Linked DNA regions of Homo sapiens: region 2 is linked to region 1. The links are contacts of gene promoters, found by promoter capture Hi-C in human tissues and cell types (Jung and others, 2019). All regions are on one chromosome and are shown on one strand. Each heading gives the region's core, a stretch centred on a gene start or on the middle of the fragment in contact. The rest is flanking DNA. Distances are from core to core; before and after follow the strand shown.

What was found. Contacts are between HindIII fragments. The study calls those that stand out against the background at their distance.
Region 2: a fragment that was not itself captured here is called in contact with the fragment with the promoter of CHCHD1 in region 1 in 2 of the 25 tissues and cell types used here (lymphoblastoid cells and stomach).

What each region holds. Positions count from the first base shown.
Region 1 is chr10:73,778,419-73,784,175 of GRCh38, reverse strand. It overlaps CHCHD1 (coiled-coil-helix-coiled-coil-helix domain containing 1), which reads right to left and starts at 2,128. Exons shown (of 3, transcript NM_203298.3): 1 at 1,977-2,128; 2 at 1,735-1,853; 3 at 524-1,102. The coding sequence starts at 2,100. The coding sequence ends at 989. LOC107984243 (a long non-coding RNA gene) reads left to right here and starts at 2,223. Exons shown (of 2, transcript XR_001747500.3): 1 at 2,223-2,399; 2 at 2,574-3,547. It also overlaps a transcript of POFUT4 not described here. RefSeq lists a silencer at 54-228 and enhancers at 1,918-2,057, 2,178-2,487. The HindIII fragment of the contact is 10,203 bases long and covers 1-3,426 here.
Region 2 is chr10:73,899,502-73,905,258 of GRCh38, reverse strand. No RefSeq gene overlaps it. Among named protein-coding and RNA genes, the nearest start is that of PLAU, 8.8 kb to the left of the region's middle. The HindIII fragment of the contact is 7,043 bases long and covers 1-5,757 here.

The DNA of each region.
Region 1 (5,757 bases), core at 879-3,378:
GTCACTGGAGAATGCAGACAAATGATAATCAGCTCTACCTAATTACTGCCAGGTGGAAATAAGAAAATAAGGCTGCCAGAGCTTTTAATTTTTTTTATTAAAAAAAATAAGTGGCTGGGCACAGTGGCTCATGCCTGTAATCCCAGCACTTTGGGAGGCCAAGGCGGGTGGTCCACTTGAGGTCAGGAGTTCGAGACCAGCCTGGCCAACATGGTGAAACCCCGTCTCTACTGAAAATAGAAAAATTAGCCCGTCATGATGGTGGGTGCCTGTAATCCCAGCTACTCAGAAAGCTGAGGCAGGAGAATCACTTGAACCTTGGAGGCGGAGGTTGCAGTGAGCTGAGATAGTGCCATTGCACTCCAGCCTGGGCAACAGAGCGAGACTGCGTCTTAAACAAATAAATAAATACAGCTAAAATGTGAAATTTTAATGACTTTTTTTCCTATTTTTGAACGTGACCAGCTAATTTTAAAACTTTTTTTAACTGCGTGGATCAAATAAAACATATCTGCAGAACCTCTAGGTCACCAGTTTGTTAACTTTATTATTCAGAGAGCACCTTGCAGGGACTACGCACAAAATAGGCAATCACTAAGTATTTACAGACGAAGGCAACTTCAACTTCCTTATTGCATCCAAAAGCAAGGGCACTAAATGGTGTAAAAGACTTCAAATGCAGGGAAAGACAATACAACGGTATTTGTCCTGCTCCTAGGGCAAATCAGGAAGGAAAGAATTTCCAGGGTCTAGGGGAGGCTCAAGAATGAAGAGAGTACCTAATTCACAACAAAAGGCCAAGTTCTGTTCAGAGGATTTTATTTCAAGATAAATCATAACTTCTACCCATACTATGATTCCAAAGGGTGAAAAAAGTGTTTTGCCTCTTCTACCCTCCAAAGAGGGCATGGCAATGCCAATGTCTCTAAAATGCCTCTGCATAGTTGTCAGAAGCTATATTTCAGTCATTGAAAATACTTGTCCATTTTCAGCTGAGGTAAGGTTTGTTAGGAAACCTCTGTAACAACTTATTCAATTTATTTGGAAGTAAACTCCCAGACTCTCCCAGGGTTTCCTGTATTGATCTCATCTTTCGGGCTTCCTGAAAACACAAAACAAATACAAGAATGACAGCTCTACAGTTTGTCTAGTCCAGACTTTTAAGATCTGACCCAAAAAACCAATCAATCAATCAAGTTTGTCCTGATGTAGGCCCATAGTTCTCACAATGCCCTAAAGCACATGAAGATGTTAACCAGCCTGGAGAGATCTATGTCAGCCTCTTTTCAACAAAAGGGCGTTGGGACCTACAAATGAGACTATGTTCAGAAGCTACTATCTCAGCTAACAATTAAGCCTAGACAGGAAACCAAACTATTGTCATTATTTAGTTTTAGTCTCTTTAGTTCTATTTCACACAATAATGTCTACTTGAGCAGCAATTTACATTTTTCAAAATGATTTTCCCATTCATTACTTCATCTGACACTCACAACATTCTTTAAGGTGGTATTGGTTAGCCTCATTTTACGTACAGTAACTCGAAAGTTCAGAGCAATGAATAAATCCGTCAAGATCACACAGCCTTCAAAACTGTAACCTTTCCCACTTTGGCGTGAATAATATACCTCCCAAATGAATGAAAGGGCCTTTCCTAGCAAAAGGCAGGGAGAATCATTACTTCTATCTCCCCCATTCTTTTCCTGAGAAAGCACCCCAGGAGCCATCGGTCACCTGAGCCCTCGCGGCACAATCGAGGAAGCCCTGGATCTCTTTTCTGCACGCATCGTCGCGGAATTCATTCTGCTTCCAGCAAGCCATCATCACCGACATCTCCGTGATGCAAGTCGCCTCTGGAGGGGCAGATCCGGGGGACCTTCAGTCACAAGAAGACCCACCTTCCTGCCCTCCTACCCACCCGCCCCTGCTCATGCTCCGGCTTCCGCTCCGGGGCCGTCCTGACTCCGACTGCTCACCGCCCTTCTCCCGGCGCCGCTCCCCGACGCGGTTAGCTAGAATGAGAGGTTTATTGGGCTTCAGCACAGGCTTCCGCGGGTTCCCAAACCGCGCCAGACGACCCCGCAGGCTGGGTGTCGCCATAGCGCACCAAGCTCCCGGCAGGCTTTGCGGTTCCGTGCGTGACCTCGCGTGACCCCTACGGGCTGGACGAATCGGCGCGGAGCTCGGGGAAGGCTCGTTGGCTTGCTGGCAGCCACCTCTTTCTTTTACTTGGCCGGGGCTGCGGCGACGCTGGGTTCGAACAGCGGCGGGTTCATACTTGTCAGCAGATTAGGAGGAGACTCTGGGTTCGTACGCCGACTGAGGCTTCTCCTTGATGGGCTCCGGGCCCCGAAGTCTGGGGGCAGTACGGGGCCGGGGACATGCAGGAAAGGGCCCTGGTAAGTGGACACTGTTCTGGTGGTAGCCGGCTTGGTCTAGGGGCGATTGGCATAGGGCGGGGTTGGGGGGGGGGGTGGCGAATCAAAATTTGAGACTTTAAGATGTTGGGTTGGGAAAGATTCGTGTTTTACTTTAATAAACCTGAAAGAACTGTCGTTTTTCACTGCCTATAGGACCACTACAAAGCCGCAAAGAAAAATTAGACTTGTTTCATTTTATAACAACAACAACTGCTACTACTGCTACTAGTTAGATACCGTTTGCTCATTTATAACAATCTCAGTTGGTAGGATGAAGCTTAAACACTTGGCATTCATCGTCTTTTTCAGTCCTCTCGCCAGTCTTACAGACTTGGACCTTCAGTTGTGATGCTTAATCAGAATTTTTTTTGAGATAGGGTCTCTCTTGGTTGCCCAGACTGGAGTGCAAGTGGCACGTTCATAGCTCACTGCAGCTTTAAACTCCTGAACTCAAACGATCCTCCCGCCTCTGCCTCCTGAGTAGCTGAGAACACAGGTGCAAGACACCACGCCCAGCTAATTATTTTTTGTAGAGACGGGGTTTTGTCATGTTGCCCGGGCTGGTCTCGAACTCCTGGGTTCAAGCGATCTTCCTGCCTCGCCCTCCCAAAGTGCTTTACATGACTGAGCCTCCGCGCCCAGCCAGACTTGTTTCTCAAGTGACTTCTTCTGGCCATTTTCACAACTCATTCCAAAGATGTGCAGCATATTCTCAAAGCATTTCCAAATAAGCTCCAAGAAATGTTTTTGGTAATGGAAGCAGAAAACAAGCCTGTAGCTCATGACTACTTTGGAGGAAGAACATTTGGATTTGTAAATTTAGTGTGTTAAAAAAATCACTTATCACAGATGTTTGGAATCTTCCCACTGATTTCTGCATGGCTGCTTATTTTTCTTCCCTTAAGTCTCAGTTCATGTCACAGAGGGCTTCCCTGACCTCTCACACCTCACCACCATCAACCTGTTTTCTCCATAGCACCTATCACAGTCTGAATTGTCTTATTATGGCCTTACCTATCCCTAACACCCATTTAAAAATGTAAGCATGAAAGAAGGAACGTTGTCTATCTTGTTCATTGCTGAATCCCCAGTGCCTAGAATAGTACCAATAAATACTTGTTAAATGAGCAAATGTTTTATTTATTTATTTATTTTTGGATTTGGGGTCTTGTTCTGTCACCCAGGTTGGAGTGCAGTGGAATATTAGCTCACTGCAGCCTTGGCCTCACTCCAGTGATCCTCCTGCCTCAGCTGCTGGAGTAGCTGCGACCACAGGCTCACACCACCAAACCCGGCTGGCTTGGTTTTATTTTTTGTAGAGATGGGGTCTCAGTATGTTGCGCAGACTACTCTTGAACTCCTGGGCTCACGTGAGCTTCCCTCCTTGGCCTCCCAAAGTGCAGGGATTACAGGCATGAGCCACCACACCCAACCTGAAACTTTTTTACAAATCTCCAACTTTATTACACCCACCCCCAAAAAAATAATGAAGCAGAAGACATTGTTTAACAAGAAGCAGTTTATTACACAAAACGAAACCTGAGATAATAGAAAATAACACTTGCAGTAATAAAGGAAGCAGCCTTGCACTCCACCTCCACACTCCAGAGTATAATTAAAAGACTCCTATCAGACATTTCTATCACCAATAATGCCAACCTCTGTATACAGCAGCAGGCTGGGCCCCAAATCAGAAGATTCATGTTGCTTGCTTTCTCTATAGGGAAAGTGAAGCTTTCGGTAAGTATCATGTGGCTATTCCTGGTTCTACTTTCCCTTGTGGAAATGTAATACCTGGTTTACACTGCTCTTTTGTGAGTACGTATATGGTGATAGGAATAAAGGAGAAAGTCTGGAAAGCACCAAGCACAAAGCAGGCCTGAGGCTCCAGCAACAGTCATTCAGAAACAACTGCCCACTTTATACGTAAAAGTATGAAAGGAATGCCAATGTGAGCCCATGTCATTAGGAGAGGTAAGGATAATCTACACCTTGCTTAACCATCACTTAACCTTTTTATTGCACATAATGAAATTTAAGCCCTAACCTAGGTCTGTACTTGTGTAATAATTATGCACTCTAAATTAGCATCTGCATTTAGATAGATTGCAAGCTTAGAAATCAGTCCTGCATTTGACCTCTTTTGTCAGTGCCTACTATATCAAATTTTAACAGATTTTTTTTTTTTTTTTGAAATGGAGTTTTGCTCTTGTTGTCCAGGCTGGAGTGCAATGGCGTGATCTTGGTTCACCACCACCTCCGCCTCCTGGGTTCAAGCGATTCTTCTGCCTCAGCCTCCTGAGTAGCTGGGATTATAGTCATGCGCCACCACGCCCAGCTAATTTTGTATTTTTAGTAGAGATGAGGTTTCTCCATGTTGGTCAGGCTGGTCTTGAACTCCCGACTTCAGGTGGTCTGCCTGCCTTGGCCTCCCAGAGTGCTGGGATTACAGGCGTGAGCCAGCTCACCCAGCCCAACAGATTTTTTTTTTTTTTTTAGACAGAGGTCTCACTGTGTTGCCCAGTTGGCACTCATAGGCGCACTCACAGCATACTACAGCCTCAAACTCTTGGGCTCAAGCGATCTTCCTGCCTTAGCCTTCTGAGTAGCTGGGACTGCAGACCCATGCCATCACATCTGGCTTAGATATATTTTTGAAGGTTTTTTTTTTTTTTTTTTTTAGTTTCTGGAGTGCAGTGGCGATCCTCCCACTTCAGCCTCCCAAGTAGCTGGATCTACAAGGCACACACACCATGCCCAGCTAATTTTTTCTGTTTTTTGTAGAGATGGGGTTTTACCATGTTACCCAAGCTGGTCTTGAATCCCTGGGCTCAAGCGATCCTCCTACCTTGGCCTCCCAAAGTGCTGGGATCACAGGCATGAGCCACTGCACCCAGCCTGAAGGTCTGTCTTCCCTCTTGTTCTTTTCTGCAAAAGGTCAAACAGGGTAAGCAAACTTTCTGTAATTTATGAAGATCATCTTTTATTAAAGGACTAAATGAAAAAAGAACAACTTTGGCAATAAAATTCAGCCTAATTACAGCTTTTCTTGGCCGCATCCTTAGATGTCAGTATATTAAGTGTAGACCCTAGTTGTTGAAGCATCTAACATATATCTATCTATATAGGTAGATATATAGATATAGGTATAGATAATATTAAACTGTGGAACTTCTCTAGTGATAACTCACTAATACATTACAACTAGAGTAGCCCTAAGGTCCAAGGTATTCTTTCCTGTCCCACTGCCCCAGAAAGAGCTAATGGTCTCCCTGCTCATTAGACTGTATGTTCAAACCACAGCAACAGAAGGGTTTGGCTGCATCCCCAAATCTGA
Region 2 (5,757 bases), core at 1,781-4,280, 120 kb before region 1:
ACCTCGTCTCTATAATATATTTTTTAAAAATTAGCCAGAAGTGGTGGCACACACCTGTGGTCCCAACTACTCAGGAGGCTGAGGTGGGAGGATTGCTTGAGCTTGGGAGGTTGAGGTGGCGATGAACCTTGATCACACCACTGCACTCCAGCCTGGGCAATGAGACTCTGTCTCAAAAAATAAAAATAAAAAAGAAGTCTGTTGTCTCCAAGGGGACAATACAATCTTACAATTTATCCCTTGTTAAAGATAGATAATAATAATAATAACCAACTTTTATTTGCATTACATTCATTTTCTTTTTACATCTTAACACCTTTAAGGAAGGTACTATTAATGTCACCATTTTATGGATGAGAAAATGAAGGTTCACTGGGCTTAAGCAATTTCCACAAGGTTAAACTCCAGGGAAATGGAAGCACCAAGACTCACATGCAGACCTGGTTGACTCCAGGTTTGGAGAACTATCTCTGAGGCAGTATCAAATTCAATCAGGCTAGTGGAGGTGCTTGTCCTTCTAACTGGGAATCTTCCTACTTCTAACCCATGGTGACATCCCAGGATAGCTCCAGCTGTCCATCCAAGTCATGTCTGCCTTGATTCCTGCCTGCCCACCTTGAACCAGACTGATTAAAGTGTTCTTCCATTTGTCTAATGTAGCCAGCCACAGTTGTGTCTGCTGGGTCTAGTCAGAGAAGTGATCACTGGGCCTTCTGGCTGTGCTTATATATCTGTGTGGACTCCTGGAACCACCCATAGCCAGTCTTCCTTTTCCACAACTATTCACCCATATTTATATGATGGGGATACTCTAGGGTTCTTCTATGGGGAAATAACAATAGCATCTATTTATTGACAATGGCTTTTATTTAGCAGGCACTGGACTAACAGTTCTGTATGCATTATTTCATTTGATCCTCAGTGAAGGAGATGCAATATCATCCCCACTTTATGGATAAAGAAACTGAGGCACTGAGAGGTTAAATAACTTGTCCAAGATCACACAGCCAATACCTGGCAAATCAAACCCAGGTTTCCTGCTCCCAAGCCTGTGTTGATAATCATCACTAAGATGGCATTGTCTCTTTATCCTTCCCTGAAGGGGGAAAAAAAAAAAGACGAAAAAAAGCCCTGTTGAGTAGATGCCCAGGTATCTGAAATAATAAATATTCAGTAATGTTATCTTTGCCACACTTGTCTGATGATAAGAGTCACTTGGCTTGAAAGTTGAAGAAGTACAGATTTTCAGGTTACCCATTTGTAAATTCTGATTCTTTAGATGGGGCCTAGAAATCTGATTTTTTTTAAAGAGAGACAGCGTGTCAGTCTGTTACCCAGACTAGAGTGCAGTGATGCAATCATACCTTACTGCAGCCTTAAACCCCTTGGCTCAAGCAGTCCTCCTACCTCAGCCTCCCTAGTAGCTGGGACCACAGGTATGCACCATTATGCCCTGTTATTTTTTTAATTTTTGTAGAGATGAGGTCTCTCTATGTTGTCCAGGCTGGTCTTGAACTCCTGGCCTCAAGTGAAGGAATCTGATAGGAGGGAATCTGAAGGAACCTTAATAGGTGACCCAGAGGATTCTCATCACCAAACAAGTGGGGAAAATGTCAGCCAATGCATCATATATCTAGGGAGTGTTGTTTTATTTTTTTCACCCAACTAAACTACAAACTATCTATCTACTGGGGCTTCTACTTCAACCCCATCCTTTGAGATGGGGGCCGGAGGAGAACACAGAGGTGGGGATGGCCCGGGACTACAAGGCAGGTCTTTGGGCAGCATTCCCCAGACAGGGATGAATCAAGGAAAGGGATGTATACCTGAGAGCCTTGTGCCAACCAAACCACCTCGAGGCGACTTTTCTAGAGAATCTGTTCTCAGAAAGTTAATTGCTTCAGCACTTTTGTACTTGTTCTTTTTTTAGATTCCTAGTGATAGTTTTATTTTTTAAATGCCAAACAAATGGCTAAGTGGAGGGACTTTTCCATATAGACTAAAAGAGCTTGGAGGCCAGGTGCAGTGGCTCAACTGTAATCCTAGCACTTTGGGAGGCCAAGGCAGGTGGATTGCATGAGCTCAGGAGTTCAAGACCGCCTGGGCAACATGGTGAAACCCTGTCTCTACTAAAATTTAAAAAAAAAAAAAATCAGCTGGACATGGTAGCATGCGTCTGTGGTCCCAGCTACTCAGGAGGCTGAGGCACAAGAATTGCTTGAACCCGGGAGGCAGAGGTTGCAGTGAGCCAAGAGCATGCCACTGCACTCTAGCCTGGGTGACATAGTGAGACTCTGTCTCCAAAAAAAAAAAAAAAAAAGAGCTTGGAGACCCAGAGGAACCCTCAAAGTCATAGCAGTGAATAAAAAATTGGCTCCCCAAGACCTCAGGAAAATGAAGGGAAATTAAGTAGCGGTTAGAACAAAGCAGAGTTGAGAATAGCTGTACCTACTAGTACCTGTCTATCTGTGATGTTTCCTCTCAGTTCCCGTACTGGCCCTCCTCTGAGCTTCTCAAGGTCAGTTTTTGGTTTTGTTTTTATTTCTAAGGTCTTCTGATTCTACCTGCATAGAATTGGGTTTCCAGAGCATTATGCTTTGCAGGGAGAGTAGACCCAGCAGCTTGTGTGATGACCACAATATTGCATCTTCAGTCAAAGAGGAAGCGACAGTGACACTGTCCCCATGCAGACTTTGCTCCACAGTGCAGCAGTGTCCTGAAGATTCATTCAGTCTGTATCATAGCAGTCAGCTTGTTCTGTTTGTAAAGGGAATTCTACCCTAAGTTCTCAAAAGGACTAAGCTCAACTCAAACTGTTCATTTCATCCAATCAACCAAAAAGGACCTTCAGACACCTAAGGACATGCCTCATGCGGTGCTAGGCACTGAGGGTACACAGGAGAACAGGGCAAGATTCCTGCCCTGAAGACACATGAAATCTGTTAGGAAGACAAAATGAATTTACATGAAACAATGAAAAAGTCTTTAAACAGGATGGCAACTATAAAGAAAAAATAAACAGAAAATAACAAGTGTTGGTGATCATGTGGAGAGAGTGGAATCCTTGTGCACTGTTGGTGGGATTGTAAAATTGTGCAGCTGATATATGGCAGTTCCTCAAAAAATCAGAACTACCAGATGATCCAGCAACTCCACTTCTAGATATAGAAGTAAAAGCAGGGTCTTGATGAGAGATTTGCATACCTTTGTTCATAGCAGCACTGTTCACAATAGCCAAGAGGGGGAAGCAACCCAAATGTCCACGCAGATAAATGGATAAACAAAATGCAGCATATCTACACATGGAATATTAGTCTTAAAAAGGAACGAAATCCCATCACATGCTAAAACTTCAATAAACCCTGAAGACAGCATAGTAAGTGAAATAAGCTGGTCACAAAAAGGCAAATACTGTATAATTCCACTTAAATCTACTTATATTTTATATAATAGTCAAATTCATACAAACAGAAAGTAGAATGGTGGTTGCCAGAGGCTGAGGAAGGGGGAAATGATGAGTTATTGTTCAATGGGTGGGTATACAGCTTCAGTTTTACAAAATGTAAAAGTTCTGGACCAGACGCGGTGGCTCATGCCTGTAATCCCAGCACTTTGGGAGGCAGAGTGAGACCCCGTCTTGAAAAAAAAAGGTTCTGGAGATTGGTTGCACAACAAGCGAAATGTACTAAACACTACTGAACTGCACACATAAAAAATTATAAAGATGGTAAATATTATGTAATTTTTACCAAGATTTTTGTAAAAGTTGTTAATCATTAAGCAGCCTATCAGCCACAAACGCAGCAGAAGTTCAGAGACTGGAGACACTAAAGTTAGAGATTTCCCGGACTAATCTTTTTTTTGGGCGGGGAGGGGAACAGGGTCTCACACTGTCACCCAGGTTGGTGTGCAATGGCGCTGTCTTGGCTCATTGCAACCTCTGCCTCCCAGGATCAAGCAATTCTCCTGCTTAGCCTCTTGAGTAGCTGGGACTACAGGCACCCGCCACCACACCTGGCTAGTTTTTCTATTTTTGGTAGAGAACAAGGGGTTTCACCATGTTGCCCAAGCTGGTCTTGAACTCCTGAGCTCAAGCAATCTGCCCACCTTGGCCTCTCAAAGTGCTGGGATTACAGGCATGAACCACCATGCCTGGCTTCCTGAACAAATCTTTTTTTTTTTTTTTTTTTGAGACAGAGTCTTGCTCTGTCACCCAGGCTGGAGTGCAGTAGCATGATCTCAGCTCACTGCAGCCTCCATCTCCAGGTTCAAGCATTTCTCCTGCCTCAGCCTCCATCTCCAGGTTCAAGCATTTCTCCTGCCTCAGCCTCCTGAGTAGCTAGAATTACAGGCTTACACCACCACATCCAGCCACTTTTTGTATTTTTAGTAGAGACGGGATTCACCATGTTGGCCAGGCTGGTCTCAAACTCCTGACCTCAAGTAATCCACCCACCTCAGCCTCCCAAAGTGCTGGGATTACAGGTGTGAGCCACCGCGCTCACCCATGAACAAATCTTAAAAGATGGGTGAGGTTGGGATTGGCAGAGGGCAGGAAACAAGAATTCCAGGTAAGACCCCTGGAAAGAGACAGGAGCTAGGAATAAACATTTTTACGTGTTGTGGAGAATAAACCTGTATGTATTTAAGTCTCTCTCTGTGTGTGTGTGTGTGTGTGTGTAGATGTATGCACAAGCAGTGAGAAGTCTGGCTTGATTAGGGAAGGTTTACATTGCATGAGAGCTAAGTTCAACTAGAGTGAGGTCAGATTATAAAAGATCTTACTGCAGCTAGAAGTGTGCACTTGATTCCATAGACTCCAGAAAGGTACTGCAGGTTCTTGAGCAAGGGTGTGCTTAAGTTTAGTAAAACTGAAAATCTCCATCAATCTCAGTTGAAATATAGGAAGCAAAAGACAGTGATTTGAAATTTGTCTGTGCTTGGGCTGTGGGGAGCATGAACCCCAGAATCTTGGTGCAGTAATGGAATTGGGAATTGAAATGAGAGGACTCCGAGAGAGGAAGTGAGAGTGCAACGGAAGGCATGAGGACTTGTACAGCTGTCATCTTTCCTATCTTTAGGGGCTTTTGATTTTCCAAACTTGGAAAGTCATGTGCTTTGCTTTAGAAAGAGTCTTCGAGGCCTGGCACGGTGGCTCACGCCTATAATCCCAGCACTGTGGGAGGCCAAGGCAGGCAGATCACCTGAGGTCAGGAGCTCGAGACCAGCCTGACCAACATGGTGAAACCCCATCTCTACTAAAAATACAAAAAATTAGCCGGCCGTGGTGGCAGGTGGCTGTATTCCCAGCTACTTGGGAGGCTGAGACATGAGAATCACTTGAAACGGGGAGGCAGAGGTTGCAGTGAGCTGAGATGGTGCCACTGCACTTCAGCCTGGGAAACAGCAAAACTGTGTCTAAAAAAAAAAAAAAAAAAAAAAAAAGGAAGTCTTAGAAAGTTCCTTTAAAGTGCTGTACCATGAAATCCATATTTGAAGGCCAGTAGTCTCCTGGATTGGAGTGGGAAGAACCGGGGGTAGAAAGCCCCACTGCCCAATGCCAGTAGCACCTGTTGAGTCCAAAGGCCATATCTGCGAGCATGAGCTGAAGCTTCCTCTTGAGGAAAGGAGTGACTGCCGTGGTGAAGGCTGTGGTTTCAGAGTCAGAGGATAGAGCTCCATTCCTGGCTTGGTGGCTGACTCCATCCATGAACCTGGCTGAGTCACTTCCCTCCATATGCCTGTTTTCCCTTCTGT